2 separate regions of the Homo sapiens genome follow, and region 1 is linked to region 2. Evidence: promoter capture Hi-C in human tissues and cell types (Jung and others, 2019). All regions are on one chromosome and are shown on one strand. The core of a region is centred on a gene start or on the middle of the fragment in contact, and the rest is flanking DNA. Distances in the headings are between cores, read along the strand shown.

Evidence for each region. The method cuts DNA at HindIII sites, captures the fragments that hold promoters and counts their contacts. A contact is called where the count stands out against the background at its distance.
Region 1: a fragment that was not itself captured here is called in contact with the fragment with the promoter of SLC6A1 in region 2 in 2 of the 25 tissues and cell types used here (aorta and spleen).

What each region holds. Positions count from the first base shown.
Region 1 is chr3:11,027,528-11,030,227 of GRCh38, reverse strand. It overlaps SLC6A1 (solute carrier family 6 member 1), which reads right to left. Exons shown (of 16, transcript NM_003042.4): 11 at 1,381-1,493; 12 at 876-1,007. Among named protein-coding and RNA genes, the nearest start is that of SLC6A1-AS1, 9.7 kb to the right of the region's middle. The HindIII fragment of the contact is 7,309 bases long and covers 1-2,700 here.
Region 2 is chr3:10,991,374-10,994,095 of GRCh38, reverse strand. It overlaps SLC6A1 (solute carrier family 6 member 1), which reads right to left and starts at 1,348. Exons shown (of 16, transcript NM_003042.4): 1 at 1,167-1,348. RefSeq lists an enhancer at 504-1,028. The HindIII fragment of the contact is 17,540 bases long and covers 1-2,722 here.

The DNA of each region.
Region 1 (2,700 bases), core at 129-2,628, 36 kb before region 2:
TGGATTATAAAAATCAGACCCGCAGTGCTGAACTCATGTTGCTAGAGTCGTTTATATTTATTGCACAATTCACCAGCTATGTGAGCATTTCTCATTCATGTCAATACAAAAGAAAAATGGGAATGAAAGAAAGCTTTGGGCAGTGTCAACTTCAAAGGCTCAACTCCAATTTGACTTTCTGGCTAATTTCTGTGGGCCTTTCTTTTCTTTTTCTGTCTTTCTTTCTTTCTTTCTTTTTTTTTTTTTTTTTTGAGACAGAGTTTTTCGCTCTTGTTGCCCAGGCTGGAGTGCAATGGCGCGATCTCAGCTCACTGCAACCTCTGCCTCCCGGGTTCAAGCAATTCTCCTACCTCAGCCTCCCAAGTAGCTGGGATTACAGGCACCTGCCCCAATGCCTGACTAATTTTTGTATTATTTATTTACTTTATTTTATTTTTTTAAGTAGAGACGGGTTTTCACCACATTGGCCAAGCTGGTCTCAAACTCCTGACTTCAGGTGATCCGCCGGCCTCTGCCTCCCAAAGTGCTGGGATTATAGACATGAGCCACCATGCCAGGCCTTCTGTGGGCCTTTCAAAGCTCAATTTCTACATCCCCTCCTCCAAGAAGCAGTCCCTGGTGCTCCGAGTCCAGTTAGGTGCTGCATTCTCTAGCTCTGTCCTATATGTCTTAGCTCAATGTTTGTGTCTCCACCAGCCTGGGAGCCTCTGGAGGGCAGGGACCCCATCTGACTCACTGTTATGTGCCCAGAGCTTGGCACAGAGATGATGCTCAATGAAGGCAGGAAAGGTGGGATACAACAGAGGAGGGGAGAGGAGGCCCTGGGCATGGCCCTGGGCAGTGCTGGGGGAGTGCCAGGTGCTTACTGAGCTTACCTGAGTGATGTTAGAGAGACCGATCAGGTAGGAGATGATGCAGACAGCAGCAATGAAGAGCTCTCTGCGGTTGCGGAGGAGCCTGGGGTACTCATCCACCAGGGCTGTGATGAAGCCCTCCACAGTGCAGAACTTCAGGTGGGAACAGAGGTCAGCCACCTGCAGCAGCCCCAGCCCCAACCCACCCAAAGCCTGGCCCTCTAAGGAAGGACGGGAGGCCCAGCAGCACCGAGCCAGGAGAGCCCAGGGTCCAGCCTGATTCTGCCTGTGACTCACTTTGTGACCTCAGGAGAGTCCCTCCCCTCTGGGCATCAGTTTCCCCTTCTGGAAAATGGAGAAGGTGGCTGAGCTGTTTCCTGAAATTTCATGCAGTGGAACATTCTAGGGACCTGGAATTTTTGGTCATCTTCTTGGCAGCCTAAGAGTTGCCTCCTCTCCCTGTTTACTCGGGGACTGAGGAGTCTGGGGATGGAGAGCTCCTGGGGTGCGGGGGGGGCGCCCTCACCTGGCTGTCAATGCCCAGCATCAACAGCATGGAGAAGAAGAGGATGGCCCAGAGTGGGGAGATAGGCAGCTGGGTCACCGCCTCTGGGTATGCCAGGAACGCCAGCCCGGGGCCTGAACAGAGAAGTGCAAAAAAGAAGAAAAATAAAAGGTACTCATCACCTACAGCCTTTCCAGCACACTGCCCATTTTCTAAGCCTTATTTCATTTCATCTTCAGAGTAACCTTTTGAGTGAGTGTTTTCAGCCCCTTTTTCCAGGTGCAGAAAGAGGGTGGGGGATGTGGGGCCATAGTAATTGTGCCCAGAGGCAAGAGGACCAGTGAGGAGCTGTGGCCATCATCTCGATGGGGGATGGCATGGCTTGGCCAGTAGTGAGGATAGTGCAGGTGCAGAGAGGCAACCAGATAGAGAGATATGTAGGGGATGGAGGGGCAGGTGCTGGTATTGGCTGGTTTGCAGGATGAGGGTGAGGGAAGAGTCCAGGACAATGCTGAGGTCTCCACCCTGGGCACTGGACCATGGGACCCTTCTGTGATGGGGAGCATGGTGGAGGAGAAGGCTTTGGAGCCTTGTTTGGCATGTATTGTGTTTGAGTAGTTGGTGGGGGTGTCTAAGAGATCAGGAAATCTCGGAATGAGAAGGAAAGAGATTGTAACCTCCCTGGGTCTGGCTCCGGATGGGGGTGGGGGAATGGTTGGGGAATTGCAGAGAAACGAGATGGTGGCTGCCCTTGAAGGGGAGATTAGAACCGGAGCAGAGAATGCTCCTTTCACGGAACCAGCCCACTTCTTCAAGGGACCAGCCGTGTGGCCTCCATGAGCCTCAGGGGCCTCTGCCCTGCATACAGTGGGTTCCACCTGTTGGCTGCTTGCCTGGCTGTGCAGCGAAGGGCTGTCTGGGGTTTTCCTTGGGTTCTGTGGCATTGATGACTGTGTGGTGAGCAGAGTGGGCATGGCCCACTTGGCGAGAACATTTTTGGAGCTGAGACAAAAGCATGGATTTAGTGGTCTTTGTAGTATGGTGATGAACATGTCTGAATTGAGCCAAAGTGTTGCGGGAGGTCAGGGACCCCAAACAGAGGGACCGGCTGAAGCCATGGCAGAAGAACATAGATTGTGAAGATTTCATTGACACTAGTTCCCCAAATTAATACTTTTATAATTTCTTACACCTGCCTTTACTGCAATCTCTGAACATAAATTGTGAAGATTTCATGGACACTTATCACTTCCCCAATCAATACTCTTGTGATTTCCTATGCCCGTCTTTACTTTAATATCTTAATCCCATCATCTTTGTAAGCTGAGGATGAATGTTGCC
Region 2 (2,722 bases), core at 99-2,598:
CCAAACACCCACCTTGTGTGTCATAGAAAAACAAAGGTAGACCCCCAATGCCACTCAGTCTGATACCGTCTCTGATTTTTGGGGTGTCACAAATCTCAGGAGCCATTTTATTCCCGCCCTCCCCGCCCCCCCAGCTCTTCATGGGGATAAGGCTGAGCTTCCTGGGAAAGGGAATGAGCGCTCCAGCCCCACATCCGGAAAGAACGTGGTGTTATCATTTGGCTTTTAAAAAATTCTCCTTGTGGTTCATGTCTATTTTGGGAGGATATTAGCTCAGAGCCTCAATAGGGGACTGCCCGGTCTGAGTTTCTTGTCTGAAGACCGAGCCAAGCCTAGAACAGGACATCTGTGGGTGCCACCCGTGGGGACGTGTGCTCAGAACCCAATGGGCACTGCCCGAGGCTACCGTGGTGAGCGGTGTCGCGCCGGGGAGTACACGCAGAGACCAAAAGCAAGAAGGGGAGCGCAGTTCCCGAAGCAGCAAGGAGGCACCGTCCTCCAGCCCTCTAAGGGACCGCCCGCACCCCACATCTCTTGGAGAAAGTCGGGGCTGGGAGAGCGCGGCGCGAGCTCTGGTGCACTAGGCTTAGCTCCGGTGCACTCAGCCCAAGCCCCGGTGTGCTTTTAAGCCAACGTTTCTGAGAGCTCGGGCTGTCCCAGAGACGTCCCATCCTCAAGTCGCACCCGACCCCGCCGTAGCCCGCAGAGAACAAATGAGGGGCATAGCTCTAACTCGGCTCAGCTGACCCCAGGATTGGGAAAGTGGCGCACGGCCCCCCAACGCTGCTCGTGTCATTCACTCCGCGTCCCCTCCATGCCCTGGGGAATGAATAGGGAGCTTCGACGGCTCCAGCAGAATCCAGTGCCAACTTGCGGGGCCAGTGGGGCACCGCGGGAGGGAAGGGGCATGCAACTCTCGCCTCTGTTCCAGCCCTCCTGCCTCCCGAGTGTCCCAGGGGACGGATGGCCTGGGCGCACGTCGGGGTCCGAGCGGCGCCTCTGCTCCTTCATGTGGCTCAGGGAAGGTGCGGCGCGGGGGCTTGAATCTCGAGGTGTCCGCCCCCCACCCGGCCCGGCTCGCGGCAGCGGCTCGGGGCTCTGGCCGTTCCTGCGCCGTTATCCCAGGCTCTGCGCCCCGCGCCCCGACGCCGGCCGCCCTTTCCTACCTGCGGCCGGGGCTGCGCTGCCCGGGACAGGCGCTGCATCCGGGCGGCTCGGCCGCTCCGATGCGCTCGGGACGCGGGGCCGCTCGGGCTCGGGCTCAGCGCTACTGCGCTCCCGACTCCTCGGCTCCTGGGCTCAGCGCAGCTCACCCGCAACCTCTCCGCTGTCTCGGTCTTCCGAGGGCGGGCGGAGGGTCGCGGGGAAGGGAGAGGAGGGGGGAGCGAGTCCGGAGGGATGGAGGGGGAGGGCAGGGCCCGCGGCGCCCGGAGCCCGCCCAGCTCGGGTATAGCCCTGCCCGCACCGCCCGCCCCCGCCCAGCGCTCCCCCAGGCCCGCCGCGCGCTCCCTCCGCAGCTGCCTCTTGCAGCTTCGCCGCCAGCAGGCTCTCTCCTTTTCCCTTCACCTCCTCTCCCCTTCTACGCCTCCCCTCTCCCTTCTTTCCTCTCGCATTCTCCCGCTCTCTTCTCCCTCCTTCTCCCCTCTCTTCCTCCCTCTTTCTCCCCTCTCTTCCTCCCTCCCTCTCCCCACCCCCTCCTTCCCTCGCCTGCCCCGCCGTCCCGCTCCAATCTCTCTCCTTCCTTCTCCTTCCTTTGATGGCTCTTTCCGGCCTCATCCTGGGTCACCAGCCTGTCTGCCTGTCCGTCTTGGTCTCTGTCTCCCTGTCTTTCACAGCAAGCACTCCCCTCCTGGCTTTTCTCCTTCCAGCCTTGCAGTACTGCTTCCGTTGGCCTGTCCTTTCCGTTTCTCTCTGCGGTCGTCCTCTTTTCGCCCTCTGTGGGTCGCTGTGGGTTGGGGTGGGCCCGTGCCCCCTCCCTGCTCTAGTCCTAGGGCAGCGTCTGCTGCCCGTTACACCTGGAAACACAGGCCTGGCCTGGGGTGACCAGGCTCTGGGTACCAGCTGGGAGTGTGTGTAAGAGTGGGGGTGGGAAGGACACCCTTCCACTGCCAGCGGTTGGTCATGGAGACACAAGTGGCTGTGTGTATGGATGGACAGATGGGGAAACAGATTACTTAAAAGGGAAACAGGGATGGTGGCAGGAGCCCCAGACACCCTTCTCTCAGTTCTTGAGGTTTGAGGGATTCTCCCAGAGAAGTCCCCTTTCCAGCCAATCCCAATCCAGCACGTAGGGACTCCTTCCCTTGTCCTTGCCAAGGCCTGACCTCCCCACCCTCTTTTATAAAGGCTTCTGGGAATGGGGCCACATCTGCCCTTCCCTCTGGGGTCCCCAGGAACTCAGAGAAAAGATTCCTTCTCTCCAGCCCAGACCTACTCTTCCCCTCCTCTCTTTGTCCCCAGGGATGGCCTTTGCTGATGGACCTCAGGTCCTCTACCCCACCTAATCTGGCCTCCTCCCTGCTTTCATCCATCCTCGAGTCCCCCAGGGCAGTGCTCACCAAGGTCACCCTGACTTCTTCTGTTTCCCCACACTCTCACTCATGAGCAGGGAATCTTGGTGTCTTTCTTGACCCATTCACCTCCCACCACTGATCACCAGGTCATATGTGCTGTGGACTTCCGTTGGTATTTCAAATAAATATTTCCCGAGTTCCACCTGTGT